3 separate regions of the Homo sapiens genome follow, and all the other regions are linked to region 2. The links are contacts of gene promoters, found by promoter capture Hi-C in blood cells and fetal thymus (Javierre and others, 2016). All regions are on one chromosome and are shown on one strand. The core of a region is centred on a gene start or on the middle of the fragment in contact, and the rest is flanking DNA. Distances in the headings are between cores, read along the strand shown. Region 1 overlaps GLIPR1 (GLI pathogenesis related 1). Region 2 holds the start of GLIPR1L2 (GLIPR1 like 2). Region 3 has its middle 7.4 kb from the start of GLIPR1.

Region 1 (3,655 bases), core at 355-2,854, 100 kb after region 2:
TCTCAGGCTACCAGGGAAAACATTGAAATGTCCTGTTGCTTTATTGTGCTGAATACTTTAGGTCCCACAGTCTTAATGACTCCCATCTAGACAAATCCAGGCCTTTCCAGTAGCATGTTTCTCCCAAGATGAATACTACCATTTCCACAGACCTCACCGACTGTCTTGGTTTTTAGCTTATTTTTAAGTAGCATTTTTTACCTTTTCCTTTACAGTTTGGAATGCACAACTAAGTATCATAAATGACTTTATTAAAATCATTCTAGAACTTAAACCACTTAATACTGTGCTTATTAACAATGAAAGACATTCCAATGATTAATGTCTATTTTGGACATCTTTTGAAATTGCTATCAGAATTTCTACTATATTACCTTTTTTCCATGGTGTAGAGTAAGCAGAGGGCTAATTAAATTTCTGAAGCAACTTAAAATTTGGAGCAAAATGAGATAAGAACATAGATTTGGGGTTGGAAATAAGGTATCGTTATAAAGTTGTGTGTCTAAGGTGAGAGTTCTCAACTTTGGAGGTAATTGTAGAGTGCTGGGGAGAGGAGGACCATAAACTTTGATTAGAAAATAGTTTTATTTTTATTTTCACTAACCTCTATTAAAAATAACATTTCCTTTCATTATGAATGAAGACAACACTCCACCATCATATTAGCAATAAACGTGACTCTGACTTAGCAGTATCATCTTTGTAAATATCAGATATTTTCATACCACATTCCACTTGCTGCAGAGAACTCAAAATATAGTTTGTGTTCATCACTGCATTGAAACTAATAGCCCCCGGTAGATCTTAATAGAGAAGCACATATTACTTTATCACAAATCTTGTTTTAAACATTTTGATAACTATTTCAATTTAATTGGTTTCCTTTATAATCCTATGTATTTTATGCATTTAACAACAAACTATGTTGAGAAAGAGCCCATAGGCCTCACCAGACTGCCAAAGGGTACGATTACACAAAAAAGTTTAGAACTTTTTCCAAAAGCAGAGTTCCAAAAAAAATTAGTGCAATGGCAGGTTCATTGAGATAAATGTGCCCCCTCTCCCCATTACTACTATGAGGATATTTATGGGGATATAAAATGCTTGGATATTATTTCACTTTCTAGTCTGTGACCTTGGTCAATTACTTATACTCTGTGACTCAGCCTCTAGCTATATAATGGGTATAAATAGACAACAGTAACTTCCTCATAGGGTTTTTGTGAAGATTATTTCATTCAAGGTTGTTTAGAACAAAGACAAGCACATGGTAGTGCTCACTAATTAGCAGCTATTATTCATATCACATCTTGTATGTGAAAACAATTTGTACTTTAGAAATTCCCCCATACCATTATTTATTATTTTTTTGGAAGGCACCAGCCAAATGGCTCCTATCCAGTGAAAATTATGGAGGGCTGACCAACTGAGAATATTGAATGTGGGTCACCATAGCTTTTCTAAGATGGACAGTTTTTTAAATGGCAGTAATCATATAGGCCAGAGGGTAGGTAAAGAGAGGGAGCACAGCCCTGGAGTTAAATCCAGGTTTCCTCTGACTCTGAAGTGTATAAATTGTGATTAAAGGTATCTCTTACATCTTTTGTCTCATCTGTAAAACAAGAATAACTTCCTCTCAGAGCTGTCACAATTAAATGGGATGCAGATTAAAACAGGTGCATAGACACAGGTACATAGAATGAACTATGCAAATATTAGCAGCCTTCCATTTCTGCCTTCCTGTCTTCACTTCTATTACCAACTCTCTGGACCTTTGTACTTCACTCCACTATTCTTCTGGATTTAGTTAAGGATTCATAGTAAATTGCAATTTTAAAAAACCGAAAAACTTCTAATGGACATCCTTCTTCTGCTTTACAGAGGGAATTACCCAACTTGGCCATATAAGAGAGGAGCCACCTGCAGTGCCTGCCCCAATAATGACAAGTGTTTGGACAATCTCTGTGGTGAGTAAAAGGAACAATACACCAATAGAATAACATAATAGTAACATGTAACTTTCTACAGAATTAACAATGAAACCATGTTTTATCTTAACGGCTATCTTCAAGGAAACTGGCATCAAGTAGCAATTAAACCAATGGCTTACTGTTCTAGGAATACATTTAAGAGAAATTTAAATGTGAAAATCACGTTCTTTTTATTTAGTTCTAATTGGTCAAACAACAACAACAAAAAAAACTGTCAGAAACTGTAGACTAAGATTCCTAAGATTTGCTTATTTCAGCAAGATCAAAAATAAGTATAACAGGTCATCCAAACAAACAGAATTCTGTTTTCGTTTTTTTTTTTGTTTTTTTTTTTTGAGACAGAGTCTTGCTCTGTCACCCATGCTAGAGTGCAGTGGTGTGATCTCAGCTCACTGCAACCTCCATCTCACGGGTTCAGGCGATCCTCCTGCCTCAGCCTCCCAAGTAGCTGAGATTACCATGCCACCATGCCCAGCCTGGCCAACATGGCAAAAACCCCCTCTACTAAAAATACAAAAACTAGCTGGGTGTGGTGGTGGACGCCCGTAACCCCAGCTACTCAGGAGGCTGAGGCAGGACAATCACTTGAGCCCAGGAGGTGGAGGTTGCAGTGAGCAGAGATTGTACCACTGCACTCCAGCCTGGGTGACACAGTGAGGGTCTATCTCCAAAAAATGAAAATAAAATAAAGCTGCAACATGGCACTTTTTATTAGCCAGACAGCATTTAATGAAGAAGTGTAGAAGCTGCAAGCAGTTAAATTTCCAAGGATGTTTTACTAAACATCCAAGCAAAATTCTGCTTTGTGATTTTGAAATATTAGTAAGTGACCAAGAGTTTATTTCTTGTTCTTGTTCTAGACACAAACCCTTCCATCCCAGTATGTTTTTTTACCATGGTGTGAAGGGGAAACTTCAATTAAGCTGTGCAAAGCCTGTGGTACTTTCGTGTCCATATTTGTAACAAACTGAACTCAGAGCAGCCGGGCTAGAGTAGGGTGCTTAGAATAGAGGAAGGACAGAGTCGGCCAAGTTCCACTGCACGAAATTTAGTTTGGAAAAAAGTGTTCCATTGCTCATGTTTTATAAGGTCCCTTGCAGGCCTAAAATTATAAAATTCTATATATTAAACTGCTTGCTCTCCTCCTTCCCATTTAATGTTGAATACTTATCTTTACATACAGTCGTACTTTTGCAAAGTTTTCTGAGCCATTTTTCTCCCAGTCCAATCATTCTTTATTTCACTTATATCACTCTTGTGAAGAAAAGTAACATGTAGCCACAATGCAGATAATATCAAGGTATCAATGTATTCACTGAATTCTTCCTTTCACTCACTCTTCACTTCAGAACGTATATATTTCTTCCTTCCAAATTAACCAGTATACATAAGGGCTAAAACTATGGATTTCAGAACCAGTATGCCAAGTTTTGGTGCAATTTCCAGTTTGACCACTGTGACTTTGGGCAAGTTTCTGCTTCTATTTTTTTCAACGAAACAACCCAGTGAAAAAAATGTTTCCCTTTAAAAATCTAGGCAATTAGTAACACTACCACCACCACAATGACAAAAATACTTCTGGTTTTAGCTTTTGATCTTTGGTGATCTAACTTGAGATGCTCTTTAATCTTGGGGAATAACATTTAGAAGATTAAAGCTGTAGT
Region 2 (3,745 bases), core at 1,064-3,563:
TACACTATGAACTCTGGGTGGGAATAATGGATAAATGTAGGTTCATCAGTTGTAAATGTACTACTCTGTTGTGGGATGTTGATAATGAGGGAGTTTATGTATGTGTGGGGACAGGAGTTACATGAGAAATCTCTGTACCTTCCTCTCAGTTTTGTTGTGAACCTAAAACTGCTATTAAAAAAGAGTCTATTTTTAGAAAAGGAATTGGTAAAAAAAACAAAACAAAACAAAAAAAACACAGAAGTAGCTCTACCACTCCCTGGCTGGGTGGCCTCAGGCAATTTGATTTCTCTTTTTCTCAGTTGTTTTTCCATCTGTTAAAGGGATAATAACTATTTCTTAAGATTTGTGTGACTTGAGTGAGTTGATATTGTCCAAGCATTTTAAATAGTGCCTGACACATTAAATATTTGTGAAATAGATTAAAAATAGTATTCACCACTCTGTATTGTAACTGTTTGATGATTCATCTGTGTCACCTTTAATTAAAAGCTCCCTGTGGATAGACTCCATGTCTAGCTTGTTCAGCATTTGAGCCTTTAGCTGGGCTGTGACACACAGGAAGTACCAAGGAAATATTTATTGAATGAGATGTCTAGCAGTGGAATGGGCTTCCCTGTTGGTCTAATTATTTAAGAAAAGGATGTGATGATCACCTGTCAGTGATGTTCCGGAGAGTATACCTAACACAGGAGGCTAGCAATAGTGGCTAAAATTTCTTCCAAATCTAAGATTGCATTATTCTATTTATACTTTTTCTTTAGCATTTTTTGCAGTCTAACAACAGTACCACCATAATAAAAGAATTGCATCTTTCAGCACTTGCCACCTTCACCCTTAAATAGGTTCTAGCCATACTAAAATACTTCTAGCGTTTAGGATCTTCCTCTCCTTAGGCACATTACATGCTTTTCCCTTTGTTTAGAATGCTATCTTAGACTTGTCTGTTTCACTTTCTGTATACAATTTCCAGAAAGGCTTCCCTGCTCCTCCACAAGAGTACCAAGCAATAGAATTTTGGCTTTGTATTTATCACGTTTTAAATACTGCCTGATTGCTAATTCACTAAATTGTAAGCTGCTTGAAAGCTGGATCTGTGTCTTGTCTACTGATCTTTCTCAATCACTTAAAACTTACTACTATGCAGTCATAGTAGTAAGTATTCAAGGGCATAAATGAAACCATCTTACATAGGTCTATTGTTTTTCAATTGTGTGCATCACAGACAATTTTTAAAAGCACTTTTCTTTTTATAAATGTTTGGCTAACCTGTTACAATGTTTTGTAGTAAAATTCTCTCCCAATGTCAATTTTCCATATCTGCTTAATGCTATTAAGCACAATATGTAATATGCAAACGTGTATTCCAAAACTAATACTTGCTTTTTTTCCATGCTTAGAATTTAAAGTCTTCAAAGCAAGTTGGTTTTGTTTTGTTTTGTTTTTGAGGAAAATGTTTGGAGGTAAACAGATCAGACCAAAATCAGCTAGATATTAGCCAATTTTGTCTGGAACAAAAAAAGAAAACAAAAGAGTTCGTTCTTACTGTGAATGCCACAATTAGTGAAAAAGATGAATCTTGATATTCCGGGCTGTCTGAATTGTGCTGATGAGAGAAGAAGTAGAAATGTTTTAACCTTTGAAGAGTTTGGTGATCCCTACTCTCCCTTCACTCCCATTTATTTTGTGGTTTCCCACAAAGGTTCATTTAAAAACTGAAAAAAATCTCATCAATTAAGTTGGCCTTAAGAACTTCTTTGGCCTTAAGAACTAGCAATATTTCTGTATTCCATTCTGTCCCTGAGGAAAATAAAAGGCAGGCCCTGCACCAAATTTCCAACTCAACAGGTAATGGGGAAAAAAAATTTAATTGAATTTGTATCTGTATCGCAGAAAAATCATTTCACCTGGCACAATTAGAAGGTTCCTCAGACCTGTTACTCAGCAATTGGCATTTACCATACAAACTGATGACTCATTAATAACGACATATCATTCAGTGTCAGAAATCAATTCGGGATAACATTTCACTACATTAGTTTAGTGAAAAGGGCTTACTCACGTAACACAAGTCTTTCTTTAGTTTGTCAGACATCTATTACCAGCTTTCTTCACTCTGCAGGTCTAGCTTTCCCCTCCTCTCCCCCTCCCCTACCCACTCTCCCCTCCCTCTTCTCTCCTCCCTCCTCCTTACCCCCTCCTCCCTCCTTTGTTTTTCCCTCCTCCCTCCTCCCTTTCTCCTTCCGGGAGGCGGGACAAGGCTTGCTTGCGTCCTCCGTAGATTGGCAGGTCACTGGGACGGCCAGCGCGTGCGCACTGGCCTGTCAGCGGCCGGTGGACCATGGAGGCCGCAAGGCCCTTCGCCCGGGAGTGGAGGGCCCAGTCCCTACCCCTGGCAGTAGGGGGCGTTTTGAAGCTGCGGCTCTGTGAGCTGTGGCTACTGCTACTGGGTTCTAGTTTGAACGCCAGATTTTTGCCAGACGAGGAGGACGTAGACTTTATCAACGAGTACGTGAACCTCCACAATGAGCTGCGGGGCGACGTCATTCCCCGAGGGTCTAACTTGCGCTTCATGGTGAGGCCGGAAGGCGGTTTGCCGACCCTTCCACTACCGTTGCCACAACGCCTCCCTGGATCTCGGGTAGTTGGGGCCACTGCTCTGAGGCTGAAGGATCGCGGAGAACCGCACTTTTAGCTTGGTTTTTAAAGTACACGTGAAGTTTACACAGAGAAAAACTGCGGACACTCTAACACATGCTTATTACCATGATATTACACAGGGCCAGGACTAAGGTGATGGAGGCACTGGCCTGAAGTGCAGATTTTAAGGGGGCGCCAATTCAAGAAAATGATATTTTAATGCAACGGGTTTTTAAAAATTAAAAATCAGTGCAAAAATATCAATATCAAGGGTAAAGAAAATGTTAAAAAATTTAACAAAGACAGGTTCCTTGGGTCTGGATTAGGGAAAAACAAGTGCGACACTCTCAGGGTGGTGCAAATCAAGATGAGATTCTGTTTGTATTTGAAATTTTTATTTTTAGCTTTTTCCATCATCGATGTCACATTAGCTTTGCCTTTTAAAAATGTTTGTTATCTTGATTTTTTTTTTTTGTGCCCATTCCAAATTTGGCTCCTAAGGAAGTGTCTCAGTTTCCTCACCCTAGTCTTGACCCTGATTTTGCCTTACCTTACAATGCGGTTCTTGCTTTCCCCCTCTTTTACACCCTATAGTCATTTAACAACTCAACTATTCCCTGGTTGCTATTGAGTTTTCCTGACTGTCATTAAAATGACTGAAAATCCGGCAAATAAATAACTGTCCTCTTAGGGAATTAGAAGCTTCAAACTTATAAATTATATTGCAAGGACTACTTTCCTAGACATGTCTTTTCTTCCTTCAGCATTAGTTCTTAGCACAAATTTCAGAAATGGGATAAATAAATTAAGGGTATGATATTTTTTATTAATTTAACACATAGCAATTGCTATGCTAAAGGGTAGTGCCAAATTTAGCAAATACCAGCTGTTCTGTTTTCACCACATCCTCACTGATTTGGACATGTTCAATTACTTGCTAAATGAATAAATTACAAAAATGGTCATTTGTTTTAATGTTGATTTTAAAATACTATTTTGATAGGACATACTTGAGTTCTTTCTTCGTCATTTCCTTTACCTTTTATATTGTCAGCATTTCCATGTCAGATTATATGCTGTCTTATAGAACTATGCTAGCATTTGG
Region 3 (3,441 bases), core at 853-3,352, 83 kb after region 2:
GATTAAAAGCACCGATTGGTTGTTATGGTGTGGACATTCAAATGCATGTCAAGAGAGCCATTGTTATAAAGAAGAGAGACCGCCTGGGGTTTTTTTTTTTTTCTTGCTAGGGTATGCAATTTCTTTCTTTTTTTTTCAATTATACTTTAAGTTTTAGGGTACATGTGCACAACGTGCAGGTTAGTTACATATGTATACATGCGCCATGTTGGTGCGCTGCACCCATTAACTTGTCATTTAACATTAGGTATATCTCCTGGGTTTAATTCACTTCTTTCACTCACTAACAGTGTAAACTTGAGCAAATTACTTAACTCTGACTCTCAGCTTCCTCATCAAACATGTAGCTATATAATACATACATTTCAGGATCATAACGAAGTAAACTTGAACTGAGAACATGCCAGACTATAGTGTGCCATGAAAAGTATCAGGCCGATGGTCACGGGACACAGTGAACTGGCAGAAGATAGCTACTCTCTGTAAGTGGAATAGTCTAGTATGTAACTATTAGGCTTCCCCAATCTTGGGCAGGGTCGAAGCTATAGGGCAGAAGATGAAGGCTCATTGCTATATATCTATGCTAAAGAAAGTTTTAAAAAATATTTAAAGACAAGTATAACAATGTTTAAGAGTTTAGAAGTTCATGTTACTCAATTCTCATCTTAATATTATCTTTAAATCCATATTTTTAAAAGTGACTTCTCTGTTTAAGTATGAGCAGCACAGATTCCAGCAGTGCTTATAAATTAGGTGTGGTGGCTCACTCTCTTTTTATATCACATCAGTTAAAGAAAAAAGCAGAAGTTCCACAGCAGCTTCCTCTTTGAAGAAACTGCCTCAAGGGCAGCTAAAGTAAGGAAGTGATAAAGTAAAATCTAGCATGCAAAGGGAGAGAAAATATAAGTACTTAAATATATGAATTAACAACATGCCTTCTTTGACCAGACTTCAGTCAGGCTCCTCTAAGCCCTCTTCTCAACTGGGGCTTGATCTTGGCCCTCATCATTCCCAGACCTGCATAGCCTGGTTTTAGCAAGAATCCTGTTAAGTCAATTTAGAGGAAATATTTCCCATTCTTTTCTGATCATCCTGGCCTGACCGCAGCAAGAACCCTGTTAGATGAGTTTAACAAGAATCCCCTCATCCTTGATGTCTCTTCTTAGTGATTTTTCCATCCAGACTCTGCTCCTTGGCTATAAATCCCCAAGTGTCTTTATCGTACTCAGAATTGAGCCCAATTCTATACTAAGGCCTTTTTTTCCTTTTTGCAATTTTTTAAAATAAAATATATCTTTACCACTTTAGTGTCTGGCTCTGGTTCTCTTTAATAATATGTACAACCAGATACATGTATACATATAGTTCCAATGTTTAATATATGGTCTCAGTGCCCATATGCTGATGATGAAAGTATAAATTAGTACAAGTTCCAAGAGAGTAACTGGATACTCTACATTTGAAATCTTTAAAACACTCATATCCTATTCACTTATTCTAATTCTAGGAATCAATCTTACTAAATATAGAATATATAAAGATATCCACAGCATTATTAAAATAAGGAATAATTGAAACAGATCTGAATATTCAACAATAATGTGTTATGTAAATTATGCATTCATTTGCAAAAACATTGTATAGTCCTTAAAATGTTTATGAAAGATTATAATAACCAAAAACATGCTTATGAAATAATAAATACAAAAAGCAAGATACAGGATTGCATGAAATTATGCCCTCGATTAACAAACAAAATTTCTATGTGTGTATTATATATTTCAAATATATATATGAGAATATGTATAAAAGATTGATAGAGGCACATGAAAATGTTGAGAGGGAGTCTTCTGAGATGTATTGATAATTTTTGTTTCCTTTATCCCCAAAAAGTCAGGATTCTTAGTTGCAAAGAAAAGAAGCCACTAAAGTGGAAATGATATTTATTAAAAGCAATTAGGTAGCTGACAGAATGATTAAGGCGGCTGAGAACAGTCTCTAGGCTAAGCTTCCTAGGGCAATGCCCACCAAGTCTGCTGTAAAGAAAATCATCACTGTTGCTGCTATTGAGTAATAAATGTCAGCAACAGAACTTTTCTAAAACTTCTGGCTACCTGCTCTTCTAGAAAACTACCACCTCTTAAACTACTACCCCCAAAAGCTGTACATGTCTGTTGTCAACTATCTGTCAAAAATAGAAGCTTCATGCAGAGGCTGTTTCTTCATGTTGCTCATCTCCAGATCAAAGTCTTAGAGAGCTCCGAGCAGAGGAGTGACATAGCTGACTTATATTGTAAGAGGATAATTCTGACTGCCAGAGGAGCATATATGTAAAGGGCAAGGAAGGAAGCAAGGATAGTACTTAGAAGCTATTGTAATAATCCAGGCAAGAAGTAAAGCCAGGTTGGTAGAAGGTGGAGCGATGAGAAATAGTCGAATTCTGGATACATTTCAAAGATAGACATAATAGGATTTGCTAATTGCCTACATTTGAGGAGTGAGAGAAAGAAAATGCAGGAATAATCCCAAGATTTAGACTTGAGAATTTGGAAGATATTTTGATGACAATGTACTGAGATGAGGAAGACCTTGGGGCAGACGTGACAGGTAGCAGTTGAGTGCATGAGGTGAGCTCAAGGCTGGAAATAGAAATATGGAAAATGCCTTGCATAATAGCTGGCAACTAGTGGGATAGTGGGCAGGGATTTCCTGTTGGGTACAATTTTGGGCATATCTGGGCTTGCCTAATCAAAGTCCTATTTTCATGTAAATGAAGGAGCCTCCTAGGAAGAAAGTTGTGCTGAAATTGACCCAATAGAAAATTCTTTAGCCCTTGACAGAGAAGGAAGATTCTGAACAGCATGGATACCATCACTCGAATTTATCTCCTAACCCAAATTCTGTAGATAGGCAATCAGGGAAGATGTAAGTAAAAACTAAAGGGCGTCTGAGCATGTAGCACTGCCTTGGGGCTGACCCTATGGACTGACTTCTTGAGGCACCCCTAATAGAAACCCATGGAACCGTGGCCACACAAGAGATAAGTGTCTGGAAAAGTAGCATAAGCTCTTGGTGGAAATGGACTTCTTCACCAGTTAATGTAAAAGAAACCCTCAGACAACCTTTTGTGGGTGATTTTACAAGGTGTTGAGGTCCTATGTTAGGCAGTTGTAGGCAAAATCAGTGAGGTATGTATTACTATCCTAATCTGACACAGTTGGCTCCATTTGGGGAAGAAAGATCTGGTTGTAGTATATATTATCACTAATGAAAGGGATTGAGAAAAGAAAAGTAGTAAGAGTATAAAAGAATAGATTATTTCTGCTCTTACATCTGAGAAATTGAAAGGAAATATCACATAGCAGAATCCTTGGCAACCAGAAGAATTCAATGTAGCTATAGTTATGCTTGAATATACAAATATAATTAACCTAGTCCTGA

What was found. Contacts are between HindIII fragments. The CHiCAGO score rates a contact against its expected background, and 5 or more counts as called.
Region 1: a contact is called between a fragment that was not itself captured here and the fragment with the promoter of GLIPR1L2 in region 2, in 6 of 17 cell types (neutrophils, naive B cells, non-activated CD4 T cells and 3 more). The highest score is 7.4, in neutrophils.
Region 3: a fragment that was not itself captured here is called in contact with the fragment with the promoter of GLIPR1L2 in region 2 in 8 of 17 cell types (naive B cells, total B cells, naive CD8 T cells and 5 more); the score reaches 11.4 in naive B cells.

Annotation. Positions count from the first base shown.
Region 1 is chr12:75,493,696-75,497,350 of GRCh38, forward strand. It overlaps GLIPR1 (GLI pathogenesis related 1), which reads left to right. Exons shown (of 6, transcript NM_006851.3): 4 at 1,882-1,967. KRR1 (KRR1 small subunit processome component) reads right to left here. Exons shown (of 10, transcript NM_007043.7): 10 at 1-3,655. Among named protein-coding and RNA genes, the nearest start is that of GLIPR1-AS1, 5.7 kb to the left of the region's middle. The HindIII fragment of the contact is 4,702 bases long and covers 1-3,655 here.
Region 2 is chr12:75,388,776-75,392,520 of GRCh38, forward strand. GLIPR1L2 (GLIPR1 like 2) reads left to right here and starts at 2,314. Exons shown (of 6, transcript NM_001270396.2): 1 at 2,314-2,575. The coding sequence starts at 2,342. It also overlaps a transcript of CAPS2 not described here. RefSeq lists a silencer at 2,116-2,288 and an enhancer at 2,246-2,375. The HindIII fragment of the contact is 6,589 bases long and covers 1-3,340 here.
Region 3 is chr12:75,471,608-75,475,048 of GRCh38, forward strand. No RefSeq gene overlaps it. Among named protein-coding and RNA genes, the nearest start is that of GLIPR1, 7.4 kb to the right of the region's middle. The HindIII fragment of the contact is 193 bases long and covers 2,007-2,199 here.